2 separate regions of the Homo sapiens genome follow, and region 1 is linked to region 2. The links are contacts of gene promoters, found by promoter capture Hi-C in blood cells and fetal thymus (Javierre and others, 2016). All regions are on one chromosome and are shown on one strand. The core of a region is centred on a gene start or on the middle of the fragment in contact, and the rest is flanking DNA. Distances in the headings are between cores, read along the strand shown.

Region 1 (6,353 bases), core at 2,392-4,891, 3.8 Mb after region 2:
GATGGGGAAAGGTCAGGAGTGGGATTTGGGGATTTTAGGGTCACCAGACAGTTCCACATGTTGGAAGCCCACTGTGTGTAAAGGAGGAGGTTAGTGGGAAATAAGGTTGGCGTCATCTCAAATGCCAGGCTAAGAGATTGAAACTTTACCCTGCAGGCCACGGGAACACAAAACCTGCTCCCCACAGGTCTTGCTGCTCCCATTTGGGTCCTCCCTAGACCCCCAATCCATGTTCTGCCCTCAGCCAGGAGAGCCTTACAAATGTAAATTCACAGTCTGTCCCTTCCCCATTTGAAACCATTCAATGGATTCTTAGTGCTCTTTGAATAAATACCCGCCTCCTTCTGTGGCCTACAAAGCTGCCTTCACTGGCCCTGCTCCCCACTCTTCCCTTGTCACCTCCCAGCCCCCGCCCCCTCACTCATGTGGTCCCAGCTGCTGTCCTCCTTTCTGTTGTCTGAGGTGCCTTGTTCCTTCCTGGCTCTGGGTTTTCAGTTTTTGCATTTGCTGTGCCCTCTGAAGAGCACTGCATTCCCCAGGGCTTCCCCTGGCCGAGTCATTCTCCTCACAGTTCTAAACCTGCACCAGCCCCTGACCCCACTTTCCAAGGGTGCCTGCCCACCAAACCTCCTCAGGGAGCTTCATTCTAGTGCTCTTTGGAGTCCTGTGTCCATTGACAGAAAGGGAAATGGGCTCTTATAATAAAAGAGGCTGTCATTGTGTAGTTATGGGTAGAGACTATGTGACAATGTTCCTAGGAAATTGGCAAGGAAAGCTCTCAGACGCCAGCTAGTTCAATCACCTGCCCAGGTCAGGGACACTCTCCTCAATGCCACTGGCAGACTTTGCCTCTGTTTATACATCTCCTGTGACGTGGAACTTTCTACTTAACATGGTGGACACTAAACTCTGACTGCTAGAAAATATTTCCTTATATTGACCCAGAATTTGTTTCCCTGGACTTTCTACCCTTTGGTTCTAGTCCTCCCCATGGATGTCCCAGAAAACACACTTGTTCTCTCTTTTCTCAGACAGCCTATAGGTGTCTGGAAACAATTCTACTCTTTCTTGAAATTCTCCCTGCTCTTGGCTTGATTCAATCTCTTGCTATGTCCAATTCTACCTCTCCGGCTATTGTTTTTGGGCCCCTCTTTTCCTGATTACTCCTTAAAGGTTGTTGCTTCCAGGCTTATACCCAGGGTCTCTTCTCTTTTTAAATAATCCCTTCCATTCTCATGTTTCTATGACCTTCTGTATGCTGGGGACATCCATACCAATATTTTTGACTTGGAATTAGCTCCAAGTTTATACCTCCAGTTGTTCCTAAAACATCTCCACTTGGATGGCTTACAGGGTTTTTTTTTGTTTTTTTTTTTTTTTTTTTTTTTGAGACGGACTCTTGCTCTGTTTCCCAGGCTAAAGTGCAGTGGCACGATCTCGGCTCTCTGCAAGCTCTGCCTCCCGGGTTCACGCCATTCTCCTGCCTCAGCCTCCCGAGTACCTGGGACTACAGGTGTCTGCCACCACGACCGGCTAATTTTTTGTATTTTTAGTAGAGATGGGGTTTCACTGTGTTAGCCAGGATGGTCTCGATCTCCTGACCTGGTGATCCGCCCACCTCAGCCTCCCAAAGTGCTAGGATTACAGGCGTGAGCCACGGCGCCCGGCCGGGGATCTTTTTTTATTATTTATTTTTAATTGAGACAGGGTCTTGCTCTGTTCCCCAAGCTGGAGTACAGTGGCTCAATCATAGCTCACTGCAGCCTTGAACTCCTGGGCTCAAATGATCCTCCCAGCTCAGCCTCCTGAGTAGCTGGGACTACAGGTGCATGCCATTAAGCCTAGCTAACCTTTTTTTTTTTTTTTTTTTTGAGATGGTGTCTTGCTCTGTCACCCAGGCTGGAGTGCAATGGCATGATCTTGGCTCACTGCAAGCTCCACCTCCCTGGTTCATGCCATTCTCCTGCCTCAGCCTCCTGAGTAGCTGTGACTACAGGCGCCTGCCACCATGCCCGGCTAATTTTTTGTATTTTTAGTAGAGACGGGGTTTCATTGTGTTAGCCAGGATGGTCTTGATCTCCTGACCTCGTGATCCACCCACCTCAGCCTCCTAAAGTGCTGGGATTACAGGCGTGAGCCACCCCACCAGGCCTGGCTAACTTTAAAAAACAATTTTGTAGAGATGGGATCTCACTATGTTGCCCAGGCTATTCTCAAACTCCTGGGCTCAAGCAATCCTCCTGCCTCAGCTTCCCATAGTGCTGGGATTACAGGCGTGAGATACTGTGCCCAGCTACTGACAAGGATCTTAAACTCAACCAACCAAGACTGGATTTGTCTTTGTGCCCCTTCCCCCACTAACTGGGTCCTCTGAGTACGTTCTCTTATCTCTGTGGAAGACATCTCCATCTACCAGGTCCCCCAGCTGCCAACTTGAGAACCATCTTTATTTGCCTCTTCTGTGTTTCCTGACCAACCAGCCCCCAAGTCCCGTAGTTCCCTCTAGCCTGGGCCTTCTCCCTCACCTCCCAGCATCTTTAGCTTGGGCATTTGACCAGAGCCCTGACCTGTGTGCCTGGGAAAGGTGGCCAGCCTCTCCAGCTCTCCCTGTTTCTCCACTGGGCATTAATGTGTTCAGTGCTGGAGAAGCGGCATGGAGAAGACCTTCAGTCTTCAAGCTTTATAGCCCCCAGCTCTCATCTCCCCACACCAACATTCTGAGTCTGCCAACTCAGTCTCAGGTCTTTTCTGACTGCTCCCAATCCAGTCCTGCCACTCCCAGTGGCCTCTCCATCTCCTGGCTTGCAGTATCTTTTATGATCTTGTCCCTTCTGACCTCTCTCACCTCATTTCCAGAGACACCAGACCTCTTGGGTCATGCTGTTTCCTTGCCCGAAATGCTTTTCCTTCCCCTTTTGGCTTGGAGAACTCCTTTTTATCCTTTAAGCTCCAGTGTAAAGATCTTTTCCAAAAGCTTGGAACTGTTCCTCCCCATCCCATACCCTCAGCACACCTTTTACTCCTGGGTGTCATCCCTGGGCCCGGCATTTACCCCTTCTTATTCTGTAATTATCCATTTATCTCTGTCCTTTACCCGTGAAGCTGCATTGCTTTGCCAAGAACTTGGTCCCCAGCACATTACTGCCAAAACCTTGAAGACTGACGTCTTCTCCATGCCTCTCCTCCAGTACTGAATACATTAATGTCCTGCAGAGAAACAGGGCGAGCTGGAGGGCTCCCGTCACATGGGTCGGGCCTCTGGTTCCTCCAACTAGGCTCAGATAGAAATCTCAGAAATGTACATGACCTGCCCCCGACTCCATGGCAACCCTTCACCCAGAGGGGGTCGGCACAATATCTGTGGCTGAGTTTTTGCCCTCACCCCACTTTCACGCGTCCTTAGGGCGCTGAGCGCTCCCTGCAGACGCTTCTTCCCGGGGCTTACCGAGCAGCGACAAGAACAGACTGTGGTACGCTTCATAGTCGTCGTCCATGGTCGTGGTGCTGGGAGGGGGTGCTGAAGGGCGTGTGTGAATGTGTGTCGATGTGGGCTTGCTTGCGTAGGGGTACCGGGGTATCAGATAAACCGTAACTCCAAGTCGTGCGAAAGGCGCTCAGCTCAGACTGCAGAAGCAACCTGTTGCCGTGGCTACGGACGCCCCGCGCCAATTGGCTGAGCGCTGTCACGTGTTAAGAGCGAGCCCGCCCTGCCGAGCGCCTGCTGGCCCCACCTCGTTTTCGTCCAATTCTGGGAGGGGCAGCGAGCAAATCCACGCCCCGCCCAGTTCTGGGCTTGGTGAAAGGCGGGATTTCTTTGTTCGGCCCAGTAGTCCCTGAATCCAGTGTAGAAAGTCTCCGGTTTTCCCGTGAAATGTGGGATCTTCCGCAGGTCTCCATATCTCTAGGCCTCAGTTTTCTCATAGGAAAAATAGGCCCTGCCTCCTCCAGAGGGTTAGGAAGAACCAAAGTGAGCTGTGGCCAGATAGAGGTGTTGGGTATGTTCTGCCCCGCTTATGGCAGGGTGCCATGGTTTGGAGTTACAGAACCTGAGGACCAGAGAATAATAATAAACCCTTGAAATGTGCATCAACTGATAAGCAAAATGAGGTATATCCATAGGATGGCCATAAGAAGGAATGAAGTACATGCTACAATATGGATAAACCTTCAAAACAGTATGCTAAGCAAGAAGCTAGACACAAAAGGCCACGTGCTGTATGATTCCATTTATGTGAAATGTTCAGCATAGACGAACCCACAGACACGGAAAGTAGATGAATGGTTGCTAGGGGATGGGGTGAGTAATTGAAGTGACTGCTAACAGGTGGAGAGATTCTTTTTGGAGTGGAAAAAAGAAATGGAAACTTCTGGAATTAGTGATGATGGCTGCACACTGTAAATGTACTAAACCACTGAACTGTACACTTTAAAATGGTTAAATGGTGGCTTTTAGCTCAATTTTTAAAAAGTTAAAGAGAAACACCTAAGCCCTTATTCCTTTGCTGAGACAAGCTATCTTTGTGACGCTTGCAAACAGATTGTTGCCATGGGCCACATTCACACAGCACTCTTGCAAGCCAGGTACCATTTTAGCACTACATGTCTGAACTTCATAATTACCATCATTGTGTGAGGTAGACACCACTATCCCATTTTTAAAAGACAAGTTAACAGGTACAGAGGTCAGGCAACCTCACCTGCAAGAAACAGGAAAAGCCAGGCCTAGAGCCTGAGCAACCTGGCTGTGTCCTGAGCTCCCCTGGTGCAGAGCTCGCCTCCTGCATTCACACGGGCCCACACTCCCCATGGAGATGCTGGGGGAAGGTATGTGACCACCAGCCCTACCACAAAGCCACACCTGATGCCCTGAGCTTGGTGAGCTCGCCCCACCCTCCAGGCCCAGCTGGGCCCAAGGTTTCAGAGGCCCCTCTCCACCCTCTTTGGGTGTCTTGTCCCTACTCCTTACCGCTTTTGTTCCCTTCCATTATTAGGTGCCCTTCTTTCTCTCTGTGAGGGTCTGTACAGAACTTGTTTATCTTTGTGCCCCTCCCCACCACAGGGCTTTACACTTTGTGAATGCTACTTGGATGTTTGTTAAATGAAAATGTGATGGTAAACTATAAAGTGGGTTTGCCTTGGGGAGAGGGAGGTGTGGCCAGTTTTCCTGTTCTCTGGTCAAAATCTATCCTTCTAAAAACTGACACTCACTAAAGTGGAAACAACCAACTACCTCTGCATCACACTGCAGCCTGATTCGGTTCACACTGCCCTACAACAAAGGCAGTTTCCTGAACAACTGATTTATTTTTCATTTATTCAATCAATTTAATTTTCAAATTATACCTTAAAATGGTAGTTGGTAATTAAGACATAGTAACTAGTTTTTTCCCTTGGTTTCTTTCTAATAGTAAATGCTTTGGTATTTGAACTGTAACAATACTTGTAATAAAAATGGCATTAAGACTTATTTTTTTTAAGACAGGGTCTTGCTGTGTCATCCAGGCTGAAGTGCAGTGGTGTGATCATAGCTCACTGCAGCCTCAATCTCCTGGGCTCAAGGGATTCTCCCACCTCAGCCTTCTGAGTAGCTGGGACCACAAGTGTATGTCACCATGCCCAATTAATTTTTAAAATTTTTTGTAGAGACGGGGTCTCATTATGTTGCCCAGTCTGGTTTTGAACTCCTGGGCTCAAGCAATCCTCCTGCCTCAGCCTCCCAAAGTGCTAGGATTACAGGTGTAAGCCACTGTGCCTGGCCAAATGGTATAAACTCCAAATGGAAGATGAGAAATGAGTTTTCACAAAGGGACCAAGGTAAAAGAGTGAGTGAGCTGAAATGGAGCAGCAGGCCCATATTCACATTAGGTTATCAAATGGATACTGGGGTGGAATCTACAATTCCTAAGAGCTAGTGTGGAGCTGTCAACAATACACAATGCCAGAGGAATCTTATTTGTCTTTGGGGTCAGCTTTTATTTTTATTTTTTAAATATATATTTTTTGAGACAGGGTCTCTCTCTGTCATCCAGACTGGAGTGCAGTGGCATGATCATGGCTCACTGAAGCCTTGACCTCCTGGGCCCTCATGAGCTCAAATGATCCTCCTGCCTCAGCCTTCCGAGATTACAGGCATGCACCACCACGCCTAGCCGATAAAAATATTTAGTGGGCCCCTAGCTTTAGCAAGGCTGATAGAAATTTGCTTTGTATTATTGATAGTTTAGAACTATTTTTCATCTTCTGATTATATTTCATCATTGGAAAAGCCGTATTTTTTTTGGATTGTTGTCAAATAATAATTTATTTTAAAAAAATCTCAAAACATGTTCAAACACATTCAGTAGCAAAGATCC
Region 2 (6,856 bases), core at 2,563-5,062:
TATGAAATAATAAATGCTGCTAATATATTAAATTTGGGGGTAATTTGTAATGCAGTAGTAGATACACTATCTCACACTGTATTTCAAAATAAATTCCAGATAGATTAAAAAGTTAAATATGAGCCTGGGCAACATCGCAAGATCCTGCCTCTAGAAAAAAATTTTAAAATTAGCTGGGCATGGTGGTGTACACCTGTAGTCCCAGCTATTCCAGAAGCTGAATAGGAGGATCACTTGAGCCTAGCAGTTCAAGGCTGCAGTGAGCTATGATGGAGACACCACACTCAACCCTGGGAGACAGAGAGAGACCTTGTCTCAAAAAAAAAAGTTAAATTGTAAAACTACCAAATTATTTTAAAACTTCATGAAAACAACTATTTATTTAACTATTTTTGAGACAGGGTCTTGCTCTGTCACCCAGGCTTGAGTGCAGTGGCACAATCACAGCTCACTGGAGCCTAGAACTCAAGCAATCCTTCCACCTCAGCCTCCTGAGTAGGCATGCCACCATGCCTGGCTAATTTTTTAATTTTTTGTAGAGATGGGGTCTCTCTATGTTGCCCAGGCTAGTCTCAAACTGCTGGGCTCAAGTAATGCTCCCACCTCAGCGCCCCAAAGTGCTAAGGATCAACACTTTGGGTGAGCTACAGTGCCAGCCAAAACCAAGTACTTATAAAAGTTACTTTTTATAATTAGAAATGGATGGAAAAGAGGAATAAGAGGTCTGACTTAAAAGTTTTCTGTGTGTCAAAAAAAATGAAATTAAATCTGAGGACTAGTGAAATATTTGCAGAAAGTATAGCAAAGAATTTATACAAAATTAAAATATATTGCATGTCATCACATGTTTATTAAATAAAGAACTAATATAAATTTCTCTGGAATTATAGTCAAGAAATCAGTAAAAGATAGCATTTCCAGAGAAGGAAACCGAGTGGCTGGGAAAGTATGTAAGGGAAATGTTTCATTGTATATACTCATCCCTTTACCTATTGAAAAGAAGAAAAATCAACAAAATATTTTTAAAGGAATATTGGTATTTAATGTTGACATTTTAATAAGAGATATCAAGCATATTAAAAAGAAAAATATTAAGACCTAACAGGAAATGTATAAAAAACACATATGTAGATGTTTCACAAAAGAAAAAAAAATGATCATAAAGAAAAATGAACTAAAAATGCATCAGAAACCTAAACATAAGCACTAAAACAAAACTCCTAGACAAACACATAAGTGTAAATCTTTGTCATCTTAAACTTCACAATGTTTTTTTAGATGTGACACAAAACTATAACAAGAGAAGAAAAAACTCATTAGACTTCATGAAAATTAAAAACCATTGTGCTGCAAACAATATCATCAAGAAAGTTGTAAACCAAAAATAACATTCGAAGGCACCTCACAACCAACTTAATAGACTCCCGGCTCTCTCCAGACCCAAATGTGAATGCCAGGGCCGCGGCGGCGCCCCACCCACAGCCCCATAGCAGGTCAGGACGAAGCGCCACGGACAGGGGACCCGCGGCCCCTGCCACAGGTCACACACATACAAAAAAATCATGCTGATTCCAAAAGCGGGCCTAGACCTCTCAAACTAACTGAATATATCTTCTTATCCTACAGTCACTTACCAATAAAAAGTTATCTTCTGGCCAGGCGCGGTGGCTCAAGCCTGTAATCCCGGCACTTTGGGAAGCAGAGGAGGGCTGATCACTTGAGGTCAGGAGTTCGAGACCAGCCTGGCCAACATGGTGAAACCCCATCTCTACTAAAAATACAAAAATTAGCCAGGTGTGGTGGCGCACGCCTGTAATCCCAGCTACTCGGGAGGCTGAGACACGAGAATCGCTTGAACCCAGGAGGTGGAGGTGGTAGTGAGCCGAGATCGCGCCACCACACTCCAGCCTGGGTGACAGAGCCAGACTCTGCCTCAAAAAAAAAAAAAAAATTATAATCTTCTATACTTCACTTCTATATGTTAATATAGTCATGCATATTTCATACATATGAATATTATTCATGATAAATGTATATCCCTCACAAAATCTTGGCTTTAATCCCTTCCAAGTTTCACAAAAATTTCACAAGCACAAATAAGCACAAAGGCTAAAAAGGACTACAGTTAGGCACATAGGAGTCAATCAAAACTTAAGAATTCATCCCTTTAGTTCCAATACGATGGGATGTGCTGGTTTGTTTCATTCATTCTTAAGGTTCTGGATAGTTCTTTCTCCCTACACTTCATATATGAAAAAACAAAAACAAAACTTGTTGCCTCTCCAGGACTCTCCTCCTGTTCCTTAAGTTGTTCATTCATATTAGTGAAAATTAACAAATATAGACTTTCTCATCAACACAGAGAGCATTGAAGTGGCCTGAGCAACGCAAACTGAACATCTCCAGGCTCAGGTTTAGTTTATCAGAGGCATTAGGATCTCTACCTTTGTCCTTGCATTCCAATTACTTATGTACATTCCCCTTTCCAAGTCACAAATACCTTCAGGGCAAGAATCTTTTCTGATTCTGGAGAAGCTCTGGACAAGTAAGTTTTGAGCACCAGTATTTGCTACCCTCTCGAGAAAGCTGAGTTAAACAGTTCCTGCCCTCGCAGTCTATCAGAGAAAGCTGGCTTGTAAATAAATTGCAACATAGGCAAAAGCAGAAGTGAGTACAGAATTAAATCTGAGGAAGCATTAACTCTCTGACTGTAGAGGAAGTTCAGGGATACATTTCTGTGTTCCTCAAAAGGCCTTCCATAAATACCTGTTGAATGAACAAATGAATGGATTAAATCTTTTAGGCGAGGTCCCAGATCCAAACGAGATGTATCAGTAGCTTCTGGAAGCCAGTGAAAAAACTTTTATCTTTCAACAATTGCGGGATGCAGCCTCCAGGGCATATTCACCCCTACCTCCACCTCGGGAAATAATTTTGGAGAAAGGAGCATACCTGTACTGCCAGCCTTTTGCACTGCCACCGCGGCTGCTGCTGCTGCTACTGATTCCACCTCCACAGCTGCTGTTCTTGTTCGGGGTCACCGCTGTGGCCTGGCCCTCCAGCTTTCCTTCGCTCTCCGAGACTTTCATTGTGGACACTGGTTCACCCCCCTGCATCTTAACGCCAAAGTCCACTTGCCCTTCTTGAGCGGGAGAGAACAATTCTGTAGTTCTGTAGGTGACTTTTTTTTTTTAAGATTTGATCTGAATATGATACCGGTTGCTAAATCACACGGCGGCTGGGGCGGGACTGTCAAATGGTCCAGAAAAGGAAGATACACATTCCCACAGAAGTTAAACTTTTGAGAGGGCAGGGGAAGCAACGAGGACAGATATCCTTCACATGTATCTCTCTCCTTTCCGGCAAAAGCAAGGAGGAAAAAGCATCCGGCGAGAAGACTTAAGTGACATACTCAAAAGAGAAGGAGTGTGGGGAGGTCGCAGATTCTGTAGCCAAGACGGCTGGGAAAAGGACGGAGCGCCACGGACAGGGGACCCGCGGCCTAACCTCGGGGCTGACCCGCCGCGCTCCCTCGTCTCCTCCGCAGGTCCTCAGGCAGTGCGTCCAGTCAAGCCCGCTCGGCAGTTCCCGCCGCAGCCCCCGAGATACAGCCAGGGCCGGCGCGCGCAGCCGGGGAGGAGGGTCGGGGAATGAGGCCGCCGGGGGCGGGACGCCGGCTCCCGGGGCCGCCTCTCCCAGGGCCAGAGGCGAGCCACTCGGGACAACTTCCTCTTATGCCCCTGGCCCGGGCCCTCGACTGGGTTCCCAGGAGCCGGTGAGTCTCTCGCGCTATCTCCAGACCCAAGCGCGAATGCCAGGGCCGCGGCCGCCGCCCCACCCACAGCCCCACAGCCCCACAGCCCCACAGCGGGTCAGCCACCCCCCGCCCCCTGCTCCCTTCCCGCCTTCCCTTCCGGAGTAGCGTGAGCTCACTTCCCTCACAGCCGAAGCGTCTGGCGCCATCTTGGGTCAGGGCGGCGGGTCCCTGAAGGAGGCGGAGGCTCTGGGAGCTGGTAGCTGGGCGACTGGCTGATGGGCGAGGGAGGGCGAGGGAGGGCGCCGCAACGGAACGAGGAACCCGGACAGTGAAGGAGGAAGAAACAAAGGAGCCAGCAGCACTAGAGAGTTCCCTTCTGGTGTGTGAGTGCCCGCCTTCCTTTTTTTTTTTTTTTTTTTTGAGACGGAGTCTCGCTCTGTCGCCCAGGCTGGAGTGCAGTGGCGCGATCTCGGCTCACTGCAAGCTCCGCCTCCCGGATTCACGCCATTCTCCTGCCTCAGCCTCCCAAGTAGCTGGGACTACAGGCACCCGCCACTACGCCCGGCTAGTTTTTTGTATTTTTAGTAGAGACGGGGTTTCACCGTTTTAGCCGGGATGGTCTCGATCTCCTGACCTCGTGATCCGCCCGCCTCGGCCTCCCAAAGTGCTGGGATTACAGGCGTGAGCCACCGCGCCCGGCCGAGTGCCCGCCTTCCTAACCACGTCCTAGCCTTCCATTTGAGGGGCCGTTCCAGGCATTTTAGGAAGAAAGCTTACAAAAATAAGAAAGTACAAGAACGAAGCAAACATCTGTACGTTTTAGTTACTTGGGGTGGGGGGGGGGCAAGCATGACATTGGAGTAAAGCCAATCATTATTATAAATTAAAAAGAAGCTGTCATGGAAATTAGAGATCTCAGAACAGAGCTAGGTACTCTTCCAGACCCCAGACAAATCTTTCACCTTGTTTAGGCCTTGGTTTTGGATTTGTAAAACAAGAGTGCATGGGTAGATTTCTAAAGTCTCTCCTAATTGCTAATTTTAGTTTATAATAACATGACTTGAGGCTGGGCACAGTGGCTCACGCCTGTAATCCCAGCACTTTGGGAGGCCGAGGTGGGCGGATCACTTGAGGTCAGGAGTTCGAGACCAGCCTGGCCAACATGGTGAAACCCATTCTCAACTAAAAATACAAAAATTAACCGGGCATGGTGGTGCGTGCCCGTAATCCCAGCTACTTAAGAGGCTGAGACAGAAGAATCACTTGAGCCTGGGAGGCGGACGTTGCAGTGAGCCTGAGGAAGGAGAGAGACCCTCTCATATTGTTTTATACTCAGTACCTGTTTTAAGAAAAAAAGAAACAGCAAGGAAGTAAAACCAAAGACAGGCAGCCCAGCGCCAGGCCGGAAACCAGGCCTGGGCCTGCCTGGCCTAAACTCAGTAGTTAAAAATCAACTCATAACTTAGAAACCGATGTTATTCATGGATTCCAGACATTGTGCAGCAGAACATTGTGAAACTCCCTGCCCTGTTCTGTTTCTCTCTGACCACCGGTACATGCAGCCCCTGTCATGTACCGCTTGTTTGCTCAAATCAATCATGACCCTTTCATGTGAAATCTTTAGTGTCGTGAGCCCTTAAAAGGGACAGAAATTGTGCACTTGGGGAGCTCAGATTTTGAGGCAGTAGCTTGCTGATGCTCCCAGCTGGATAAAGCCCTTCCTTCTACAACTCGGTGTCTGAGAGGTTTTGTCTGCGGCTCATCCTACTAAAAGCTGAGATTGCGCCACTGCACTCCAGCCTGGACAACAAGAGCAAGACTCAGTCTCAACGAAAGAAAGAAAAAAACAAAAACCGGCCGGGCATGGTGGCTCACTCCTGTAATCCCAGCACTTGGGGAGGCTGAGGTGGGCAGATCACGAGGTTAGGAGATCGAGACCATCCTGGCTAACACGGTGAAACCCCATCTCTACTAAAAATACAAAAAATTAGCCGGGTGTGGTGGCGGGCGCCTGTGGTCCCAGTTACTCGGGAGGCTGAGGCAGGAGAATGGCATGAACCTGGGAGGCGGAGCTTGCAGTGAGCCGAGATTATGCCACTGCAGTCCAGCCCAGGCAACAGAGCAAGACTCTGTCTCAAAAAAAAAAAAGTAAATAAATAAACCTACCGTACAACCCAGCAATCCCACTACTGAGTATCTATCTAAAGGGAAAGAAATCAACATATCAAAAGGATACCTGCTCTCACATGTTTACTGAAGGACTATCACAATAGCATAAATATGGAACCAGCCTGTGTCCATGAACAGATGAATGGGTAAAGAATTTGTGGTATGTAGGCCAGGCACGGTGGTTCACGCCTGTAATCCCAGCACTTTGGGCAGCTGAGGCTGGTGGATCACCTGAGGTCAGGAGTTCGAGACCAGCCTGGCCAACAGGGCGAAACCCCATCTCTATTAAAAATACAAAAATTAGCTGGGCATGGTGGCGCACACCTGTAATCCCAGCTACTCTGGAGGCTGAGGCGGGAGAATTGCTTGAACCTGGGAGGCGGAGGTTGCAGTAAGCTGAGATCGTACCACTCCAGCCTGGGTGACAGAGTGAGACTCCATCTCAAAAAAAAAAAAAAAACAAAGACAAATAATGGAAAGCCAGGTGTGGTCATGCACACCTGTAGTCCCAGCTACTTGGGAAGCTGAGATGGGGGGAATCACTTATGCCCAGGAGTTTGAGGGTAGCCTGGGCAACATAGAAGACCTGTCTCTTTAAATAAATACATAAATATAAAAGTGGAAAAAAGCTTGTGGGATAAAAATATAAAAAACATGATTCTAAGTGAAAGATGCAAGACGCAAAAATGTCACATACTGTATGCTTCCATTTATGTGAAATGTCCAGAATAGGCAAATCCATCGAGATAGAAAGTAGATGAGTGGTTGCTAGGGATAGGAGAAAGGAGGAATGGGAAATGACTGCTAATGAGTATGGGGTTTTCTGGGGGTGGGGGTAATAAAAATGTTCTAAAATTCGATAATAGTGATGGTTGTACAATCTTGTAAGTATATGAAAACTCGATTGTATACTTTAAATGGGTGAATTTA

Evidence for each region. The method cuts DNA at HindIII sites, captures the fragments that hold promoters and counts their contacts. A CHiCAGO score of 5 or more calls a contact.
Region 1: the fragment with the promoter of EFCAB12 here is called in contact with the fragment with the promoter of OSBPL11 in region 2 in 1 of 17 cell types (neutrophils); the score reaches 5.2 in neutrophils.

Annotation. Positions count from the first base shown.
Region 1 is chr3:129,424,995-129,431,347 of GRCh38, forward strand. EFCAB12 (EF-hand calcium binding domain 12) reads right to left here and starts at 3,642. Exons shown (of 9, transcript NM_207307.3): 1 at 3,446-3,642. The coding sequence starts at 3,494. MBD4 (methyl-CpG binding domain 4, DNA glycosylase) reads right to left here. Exons shown (of 8, transcript NM_001276270.2): 8 at 5,953-6,353. RefSeq lists a silencer at 3,779-3,828. The HindIII fragment of the contact is 3,479 bases long and covers 2,973-6,353 here.
Region 2 is chr3:125,591,685-125,598,540 of GRCh38, forward strand. OSBPL11 (oxysterol binding protein like 11) reads right to left here and starts at 3,813. Exons shown (of 13, transcript NM_022776.5): 1 at 2,953-3,813. The coding sequence starts at 3,116. RefSeq lists enhancers at 2,341-2,400, 3,361-3,420 and a silencer at 3,521-3,930. The HindIII fragment of the contact is 11,640 bases long and covers 1-4,527 here.